2 separate regions of the Homo sapiens genome follow, and region 2 is linked to region 1. Evidence: promoter capture Hi-C in 16 types of primary human blood cells and fetal thymus (Javierre and others, 2016). All regions are on one chromosome and are shown on one strand. Each heading gives the region's core, a stretch centred on a gene start or on the middle of the fragment in contact. The rest is flanking DNA. Distances are from core to core; before and after follow the strand shown. Region 1 holds the start of PTTG1IP2 (PTTG1IP family member 2). Region 2 has its middle 240 kb from the start of MTERF1.

Region 1 (5,083 bases), core at 294-2,793:
TGGCCAGGGAAGTTTTATGACCTGCTTTGCTCAGGTGTAGTTTTCATGTCCTACTTCCAAAGTAGGAGTTGGAACTCCACCCATACCATGAGAACTGAGAGGCAATGAGGGGCAGGTCTCCAAGAAACAATATGAACATAGAATATATGTATTTTTCATTTTAATGGCTGCTTTAGAAAGCAACAAGTTTGCTTTCTAAAGACACTGTAACAATTTACAGTTCCTCCAAAAAGTATAATAGTACCTTTTCCCCCACAACTTCACCAATGATATCTTAGTTTTCTTTTTAAATGCTTGCCTACCTGATGTTTACATTATTAGTTTTAATTTATAATTTCCTAGTTCCTAGTACTAGTGTTTCTAAACTATTTTTTTCATATATTCATTGGCTACTTGGATTTGCTTTTCTGTCCATGGATTCTCCACATCTCTTGTCCGTTTTCCTATTGTTTATCTTTTGTCCTTTTTTTTGTCAATTTATAAAAGCACTTTTTATATTATAGCTAATAACCCTCTGTCTGTCCTCTGCATTGCAAATGGGTGAAGAAAAATTAGCCTGGAACTCTGCACATCTTCTCCTCCTCCATCTTTATTGTCCATACTAGACCCATAGTCCTCAGGATGCAGTCTAGATCAATATGCCAGGAATACTATGGGAAAACTGCAACATTTGTTTTTTAAATTTTTTTAAATAATTTTTTTAGAGAAAAGGTCTTGCTTTGTTGCCCAGACTGGAGTGCACTGATGCGATCATAGCTCACTGCAGCCTCGAACTTCTTGGCTCAAGCGATCTTCCCACCTGATCGTTTTTGAAAAACAAAACAAGATAATTCCTGGTCAAGGACAAGTTTTCATCACCCACCTCTACCCCTCCCCAACCACACATACTGGGGCAAGATTGCTCAAATTTCAGTCATTCTGGAACCACCTCCCCAATTTTTGCCATATCCTTTAAGTTGTGTACTATTTATATTTCTGAAAATTGTCCTTTTTGCACAGATTTATTTTAAAAGCATATATCGTTGCTATTACATCATTGTAACTACTGGTTATATTTTTCCAATACGCATTAAAATAAATTCATAACTATGAAAATAAAAGACATTTATGTACTACCCAAAACATACCTACCTTTAGGAAACTGCATTAGAGCACGTCAATAGGATCACCAGGCTAGTCAAGGACAAGACCAAGGGTTTACAGAGCTGTGAGTTTCACGGCCTTACCACTCATTGATCGCACAACCACTCCCATGGAGTGCAGTGGGTGGTAGGTTCATTTACATCAGAGAAAAGGCAGCATGGAAGAGTGCAACTTCTGTACACATATTCAAGTAGTGAGAATTAGAATCCAGGTCTTTCTCCAAAAAACAACAATGTAGTAGGGAAAAGTGTTGATTTGGGAGAAATAGACCTCAGTCAAGTCCAGTGGACCAACTGTACATGGTATTCAGGGCCCAGGAAGCTGGACCCAGTGCCGACGAGGATTGCACTATGAACATTCTACATTCTGGCTAGAACATTAGGGATTCTAAGGTTCTGCTGATTATGCTGGCATCCAGGGCTTGCAAGTGGCAGCTTCAGCACCCAGGGCTGTGGTAGGTCACAGTCTCTGGGCGGGTCTCAGTGTCCAACACTGTAGCTGGTGCCTGCCAGGTTCCCAGTGGCTGGGGTCACCAGGTCTGAAGAGAGATGTGCTGGCTGCGGGCATGGGGCCAGATCCTCCTGCCAGTTTTCCTCTCCCTCTTTCTCATCCAATTGCTTATCAGCTTCTCAGAGAATGGTTTTATCCACAGCCCCAGGAACAATCAGAAACCAAGAGATGGGAATGAAGAGGGTGAGTGATCTGGAGTCCTGAGGTGGGTGCCCCACATGCTCCAGCGTTTTTTTTCCTTTTAATGGTGCCATCCTGGTGCACTGGAATTTTCATCTCAAAAGTTGTCATTTGGTGTTGGTGGGAAGACATTTTAAAGGTTCTAGATGGTTTTGGTGAAACTCAGTTAAATTGGACTCAGATTAATTTGGTTTATCTGAAATATGAAAGGTAGATTCAAAGTTTTAAATTTGAGGAAAAGCATGGTTTCTCCCCCATCACTTTCTGCATGACCTATGACATATAAGCTTTTTGTTGTGAATAAGCCATTGGGTTTTGTTCTAATCAGACCCACTCAATGGTCATAGTTCCTCTTTCTTAAGTTTTTTAAGGTCTTAGTTAATAAAATGCTTTATTTGTTCTTTTTCATAAAAAAATTACTTCAGTTTGGAGGCCTCTCTCGATTTCCTTCCAAATTGAAAAAATTTTGAAATGTTAAAAGTCATGCTGAGTTAAATTCATGAACCTGGAAATAAGGTTTTAAGTATCCTAAATTGGAACCGTATAGACAAAATAAGAGACAGAATTTGAATTACTTGGAAAGTGCCCTGTAAAGCCAAGATTGCCATTTTTACAAAGACAATGAGACAGAATAATTACTGCTGTCTGGTTTCCAGAGTAGAAAAGAATGTTAGTATCTGTAAGCAAATCAGTCTTCCTTACTAAAACCAAATCCACAGTTCTCAGCGTTGCACTGAAATAAGAATCTCCTTCGAGGGGGTAGGGTTGGGGCGACGCTGAATTAAAAGAGCTAGCTTGTTTTCTTTGGTTTCATCTTTCCCACAGATTTCTCTTTTTTAACCTCTTGGTCACCTCTATACATACTCTAAGAGAAATAGTGTTCCAGTGCCATCCTGGCCCCTTCTCCCAACAAACAGCACCTGAAAGCATAGGCCCAAACATAAAAACAAATTCTTCCTTTTGTTCCCTAGCAAACTGGACTCATACCGGAAATTTTTCACGTCTTAAGACTTTATCAAAATGCTGATGAAGAACAAAAAAAAAAAAAAAAAGAAAAAAGAAAGAAAACAAATAAAATAAATCAAAAATCACATCTAAGATAATCTCCAAAGATGGAAGTTTCTGTTGCTAGCTAGCTCACTTCTAGGGCTGGCCAACTGGAGCCCATGTTTCTAAGGAAACACCTTGCCTGCCAAGGGCCTCTCCTGAATGCTTGCATCTTAGTCTCAGGCCAGTTCCCCTTAGTGCTTGCATTTAATCTTCCCATCTAACAAGGATATGGTTTCTTAGACATCATGATACTTTTCACTTCCAAAACTGAAAAGGGGCTTCTAAGCCTTCACGAGATCCTCATCTATGTCCCAGATTGTGCCCTAAGTGACAGGCAACAGACAGGACTTTGTGAAGGATTGCACATCAAGTGAGACCTCCCCCTAAGCAGGTTGTTTTGATCCCCAGGACTTCTATCTCTGATGTTCATTTACATTTGAGAGCTTAGTAATCAATATCTCAAGAAATTATAGAAAGCACTTGATGCAACTTTGGGTTAATCTTCTAGAATCTAATGACTGGATTAAAAAATATACTGAAACCTAGAGAATTTTCTTCACTAAAAGTAACCAGACAACAAAGGGGCATAGTGCAAAAAATAAGTGGCAACTAAGGAAAGAACTGGAAGATTCTAGATCAGAACAGAATAGCACAGCATGGCAAGACTCCAAATGTTGCCACTCTCCCTTAGAGGTAACTAGTGAGTTACTATAATCCAATAATTTTTATTAATTCTCCCAAATCTGGAGAGAAACAAGTTGAGGGGGTATCCATTCTTTTTCTTATTCCGAAGATGAGAAGAGGAAATGGCTACTGCAGAGAAATAGGTGGAATGAGGACCTGAAGAGAGAGGGCCTGACTCTCTGAAGGAAACTCAGGTTCCTGCGTTACAAGCTGGATTTGAGGGTGGATCTAGAGTCCAAAGATACCCCTTCATGGAAATGGGAAACACCTCTGATAAGCTCTAGCAAACCTTGGCACTGGAAAATGACAAACCTCAAAAGAGAGAGCAGAGTCAGATATTCTAACAAAGCCTGGCACAGCCTCATTTGAGTTCTCCCCCTTGTCTAATGCTGAAAACAATGGAGTGAATAGAACATAAAATGCCATAAAACTGTAGCTTCTTGAAAAAAATCTCAAGGATCATGGTAAGGTGGTTAGGATCTCACCTACACTATATCAGAACAAATGGAAGGTCTGAACAGAGCTGTGCAAGCATTAGTAGAATGAAAACAATAGAGCAACTATGTAAACCCTGCACAGCAAAATAAAGAAATAAAGGAGTATACGATAGCATGCAAACACACACACACACACACACACACACACACACACACACACACCCCAAATAATCTACCCTAGAAGAGAACACAACTCAAGAAACATGAAAATTTCCCACAAGTGCTTTGAGCTAGAGAACAATCAAACGAGAAATATTCAGTGAAACAAGCCTCGAAGTCGATAGCAAGATATCAGAATGAAATTAAAAGGCAGATAGCTCCAAGGAAATAAATTGAAGGCCAAATAATTTGAATATAAGGCAAGGCTTCCGAGTTTTCTCTCTTCATTTGTTTATTTCTGCTAATGGTGAACACACCAAGAATATTTGTCACATACTCTAAGCTTACTTATTGTGGTGGGCTCTGGTAGCTGCCTCATTCCTCTGTCCTCTAGCCTAGGGGGTACTGTTATCTGGGAGGAGGTTGGACTTCGCTTTCTTTCCCCTGGTAAACTTCTCAGCCTCTTTCATCACCTGCATACCCAATCTCGGTACTAAGTTCCCAGTGTTATATATACACAGAGTGATTTCTATTTTCCTGGTTGGATCCTAACTTCATATAGCCATCTTTAAGACAAAAAGTGCTTTAAGATTTTGACCAGCAGGCAGGTATTAGGAGGATTACAGCATTGACACTAAGGTTTAAATGCTGATGGGGAACCAGGAGAGAAACCTGGTATACCACTTCTGGCTGAGGTAAAGGAAGGGTGAGATAATATAAATCTCAGATGGGTTGAAGGGGAATCTGAAAATATTAGGAACTTGTGACTCACTTTCTAGAGTTTACTCTGAATCCACTGGTCTCATAGATAACATGAAGCTAACATGGCTCCCAAACAGTAGGTAATAGTAGCAGGAAGAAGTATCTTAGCAAATGGACTCAAGGACTGCATGTCATAATCCCTTGGACATAAGAATTTT
Region 2 (4,730 bases), core at 325-2,824, 1.2 Mb after region 1:
CCCCATCCCCTAGAGATTCTGTTTCCATACTTTGAGGTAGAGCCCCCAAATCTGCATTTCTAATAAGTTTTCCAGGGATGCTTATGCTGCTAGTCCAGGCCCAGGGTTGGAGGATCGCTGCATTAGACTATCAGATTAGCATAAACATTATTTAGTTTTTCATATAGACCAAGCAAAAGCAAGAGTAAATAAATTCTCAAAACACAAAGATAGCAAGCAATGTCCAGAGTCAGGGCCCGCTTCATGAGCGTGACCACTGCAGTTACACAGTGCCCTGCGCTCAGAAGAGCCCTGCCCTGGGGGTTTAATACTCTGATTTCATCTTTGAATTTGTGTTTTGTAAGTGAAATTCAACAGGACAATGGAGCATGGTTGGTGGGCTTGAAGCCTTGGTGTAGGCCTGCTTCCTACTACCTCTCCACCCCACAAGGATGGTTCTCAGTCCCCACTGTTCCCTGTCTCCTGGTGCCCCAGACAATCTGACTTTACTCTCCGCAAACTTGCCCCACAGCCACTTCCACCACATTCCACTCACCCCCAAAGGGGCCTGGGCACTGATGCAGGAAGGGTCAGGGTTGGGTGCAAGTCTCAATGGCTTCTCTAGGTGGGGTAAGGTATCTATGATCATCCCTAGTCTGGGCTGACAGTGCCACAGTCCATTCTGCTGGCAACTCAAACTTAGGACTATGCCACTCAGAGACAGATGTTGGTGGGAAAGACCTGTCCTTCTTCTAAATTTTAAAATATTCAAGTGGTTGAGTTATAGACTCCTAAAGGAGAAACAATTTGAGTTGAATAACACCTCTAAAATGAAAAGATTCTCCAGACTTTTGCAAATGAGCTTTGAATGAGGTATTTCAGGGACTTTTTCAGCTATTCAAGTGATCACAAAGAAAAGGGACATTTGAAAGTCTTCAATGAAGCTTTTATTGGGAACTTTATACTCTCTCCGTCTTCTCTCCCACCATAGCCAATTCATCTACAAGTGTGCCTAATTGGTTATGTGCATCTTCATGGTTTGAAGACTACTCTAGACTCGTGTTTCTCAAACAATTAAAGTGCATATAAACCACTTGGAAGTGTAGATTCTGATTCAGTAGGCCTGGAGTAGAACCCAGGAATCTGCATTTCTAATAAGCTTCCAGGTGATGGTGATGATGCTGGTCTATTCTAGATCCTTGTCCGCCAAATATGGTCTATGAGCCAGTAGCATCAGCAATCCCTAGAAGTTTGTTAGAAATTTAGAATTTCTGGCCCCAACCCAGACCTACAAAAAAGAATCTGCATTTTAATAAGATATCTGGGAGATTCAAAAGCACACTGAAGTGTGAGAAGCATTACCCTAAGCCTTCTGAATCATCTTTCTCCTCCCATTTCTTCTGCTTTCCAAAGCCACAAGATGGAGATCTGTCACTGAGACTACTGGTGACTGTCCCAAATTTATAATCTGGTAGGTTTTAGGAAAGACACATTCAATGTTGTTTTATTCTTTATCCTGACTCTCCCACCATGTCCCAGGATAGTAGAACTTCTGGCAATGACCTAAGACTCATCTGTAGCTTCCATTTTTATAAAATACTAGCAGGACCAACATTCTCATTATATAGAGGAGGCTCAATCTGGACAGGAGGTATCTACAGGGAATCATAGAGTGCACTTACCCATTGGGCTGTGAATAGTTGCAAGTTATTCATAGGCTGAGAGAATAAGAAAATTCAACAGGAGAGGTCTACAGTTTCTGCAATACAGTATTAAGTGGATATATTTATGCTACTTGCTCTGAGAAGTTGTATGGCAGAGTGGTTAGGAACACACAGAGGCTCCAGAGATAGACTGCCTGGATTCAGATTGTACTCATGTCCTCTACGAGCTGTGTGACCCTGGACCAACTACTTAAACTCCCTGTGCCTGTTTCCTCCTTTAAAACAGATGTGATAACAGCACCTACTTCATAAGGTATTATGAGTATCAAAGCCATAAGATCCTTGGAATCATGGCTTGCATAAAGTAGTAAGCTTTGCAAAGATGTCTTAATGCAAACTTGGAAAGACAGCTAAATCTTAAACTTTCATTTGCAGGGCTTCAACATTTCTATAACTTTGCTTAATTGAAACTGTTGCATTATAATTGGGGACACATTTTGCATTCCATAAGAGAGAAGAGATCCTATCTCAAGTATCAGGAACATCCCTATAGTTACTATAGCAATTAACACATTTAACAAGACACTTGAAAGAGGATCTGCTGGCCCCAAGGACCCTTGAAAGGGGGACTGTTGGCCCCAAGACCCTGAAGGTGTGGCCCTGAGTCTATCTCTGTATTTCATTGTCACCCACCTGGCAGAGGAGGAAAATTCAAAGTACACCTCCAAATTCCCACATAAGCAGAAAGGCTCACCACTTTAAAAACCAATTTATTTTACTTTAATATTCAGAGATTGTTATTTTCTGAACAAACATCTATCAAAAGCTGCCAAGGTACTGCAGAAAATGAACTTTAAAATTGGGTGTTTAGCAATTAAATCTCACTCCGTAAATTGGCTAGGATCCATGTAATAAATTAGAATATACAAACACTGCTTTTCCATTGAAATAAAAACCTAAGGGGAAACCCCATGTAACAGAGACCGTCAGATTTCAACACCCCTTCTCCACCCAAGATATTGAAGATAGGATCAAATATATTGCAAGATGTCTGCCACACTCACAGGCTGTTCCGATGCCTGCCTGACACAGCCGCCAGTTTTTCCTATGCTCCATCAATTATTTCTTTGTTTTGCCTGGATGGTGCTTGTAAACTCCTCAAGGTGTGCTCCTGGGCAGTTACGTGCATTTGAGATTTTTCCCTTCTGATCCCTACTTGGCTGTCTGTGGACCAAAACTGATTTGCAGGCAAGGGAAGACTGCTGAAAATTTCATGACATTTAGATTTTTATAAAGCATATGGTGGTGGCTCAATAAGTTTGCTTACCTTGGATTAAAACCTATTAACGTTCCAGCATTTTCCTCTCCGTGAGATTCATTTCTGACTCGCTTGTGGTGACTTGCAGAGCCCTTCATTACAGCTCAGGGGCACAACTGATGCCGCACAAGCCATTAAAAATGAGTTTGCGAGAGTACAAAAAAGAAACCTTTGTAGACGAGGGCCAATTTGTTTCGAAGGCGATGCACTGTAAGAGCATTCACAAAGCGGCAAGCATTATCTCAGATTCAAGCTATGCCGTTTTCTCTCCTATTTTTAAATACCAAATAGAGAAATGGGAGAGTCCTTTCTTTGTGACAGCAGCTTTGGTTCCTGCCCTTATTTTCTGCCATTGTAGCTCCAGTTAAGCTGTGAGAACAGCCCTGTGGGTTTTTTTTTTTTTCCGTTGGTTAAAATCGATGTTTGTCTGGGGTCCTTATGAGAGTAATCTTATTCTCTATGCCTCAGTTTCTTTATATGCAAGGTATCTCCAATACCAAACTCACAGGTTGTTGGGAAGGGTGGGAGATCTAATGAGTATAATTTTTATAAGTGAAAATGAGTACTCAATAAAGCACAAATAATTATTTTTGTTGTTATTAAAGCAGGCACATTTTACTATGTGCCATCTCAAGATTCTCCCATTGTTTTTCCTAAGTGATTGCAATTTAATTTGTTTTTAATTAGCCTTCATTATTTACATATTCACCCTAGTTGAAAGCTCCAAGACAAATACGTTTGGATCAGGGCTTCTCAACCTCAGAAATATTGACATCTTGAGCTGGACAATTCTTTCAGGGTGGGGACTGTCCTGTGCATTATAGGACTTTTCACGAAATCCTTGACCTCTACCTGTTAGGTGTCAGCATCCCTCCCCACTCCCCACAGTTGTAACAACCAAAAGTGTGTCCAGCCTTTGCCAAATGTCCCCTGGGGGACAAAATAACCCAGTAGAGTACCACTGCTTCAGAGTTTATCTAGCTGGTGTTGTCTTTGGTTGCATTTACTGTACATGTAGAACAGCAAGAGCACTTGAACTGGTGAAAGCTATAGAAACCAGTGACGCACCCTAAGAACATATTACAATTTGTATGACAGAGATATTAACCAGGCCTGAAAGCTAATAGCGGCCACTAAAGTCAAGAATGAGACTGAGGCCATCGACAGGAATTTTTGAGTAAGATTAGGGGAGAAAGGAAAGTAGCTCAGAATGAGTCCGTAGAACTGCATGGGTACATCCACCTAATAGTGAAGAATACTTCCAAACTCCAGGGGCCAGAAGAGAAGAAAGAGAGAAAAGTACCCAGGATAGAGCTGGCCAAAGGGAAGAGGCGACAGGGAAGGGAAACAGCTTTCATGTTCAAGCAGAGGGCAGCTGAAGAGGAAAGAGCACAGGGAAATATGATATACTGCAAACAAAACAGCAAGAAAAATGGAGAAAAGATGAGAGAAGGAAGGACAGAAAAGAAGCAAAATTCACAGTGAACATAGAGGAAAGAAATGAGGGTAAAGCCTAAAGGTGTAAAGATATGCCTGACTTCCGAGCTTATCTGGGACAAGTGTTAGCCCACGGGAAGTTCCACACCGGCCTCCCCACCCCGTAACTGCCTTCTTTCTACCACCGGTGTGGACTCGATGAACTGGATCTGCCTTCTCACAGGCTGCCCTGACCATTGAGTCGTGCAGTCAGGGGCCAGCTGGTCAAGAGGGACAGCATCTATTGCTCTGCCCATGCCTCAACCCAGATTCTGTCCTTTCCCCAGTCAAAT

The links. The method cuts DNA at HindIII sites, captures the fragments that hold promoters and counts their contacts. A CHiCAGO score of 5 or more calls a contact.
Region 2: a fragment that was not itself captured here is called in contact with the fragment with the promoter of PTTG1IP2 in region 1 in 1 of 17 cell types (total B cells); the score reaches 5.4 in total B cells.

The regions. Positions count from the first base shown.
Region 1 is chr7:90,468,096-90,473,178 of GRCh38, forward strand. It overlaps PTTG1IP2 (PTTG1IP family member 2), which reads left to right and starts at 1,544. Exons shown (of 7, transcript NM_001365443.2): 1 at 1,544-1,836. The coding sequence starts at 1,692. The HindIII fragment of the contact is 9,262 bases long and covers 1-2,118 here.
Region 2 is chr7:91,640,404-91,645,133 of GRCh38, forward strand. No RefSeq gene overlaps it. Among named protein-coding and RNA genes, the nearest start is that of MTERF1, 240 kb to the right of the region's middle. The HindIII fragment of the contact is 877 bases long and covers 1,137-2,013 here.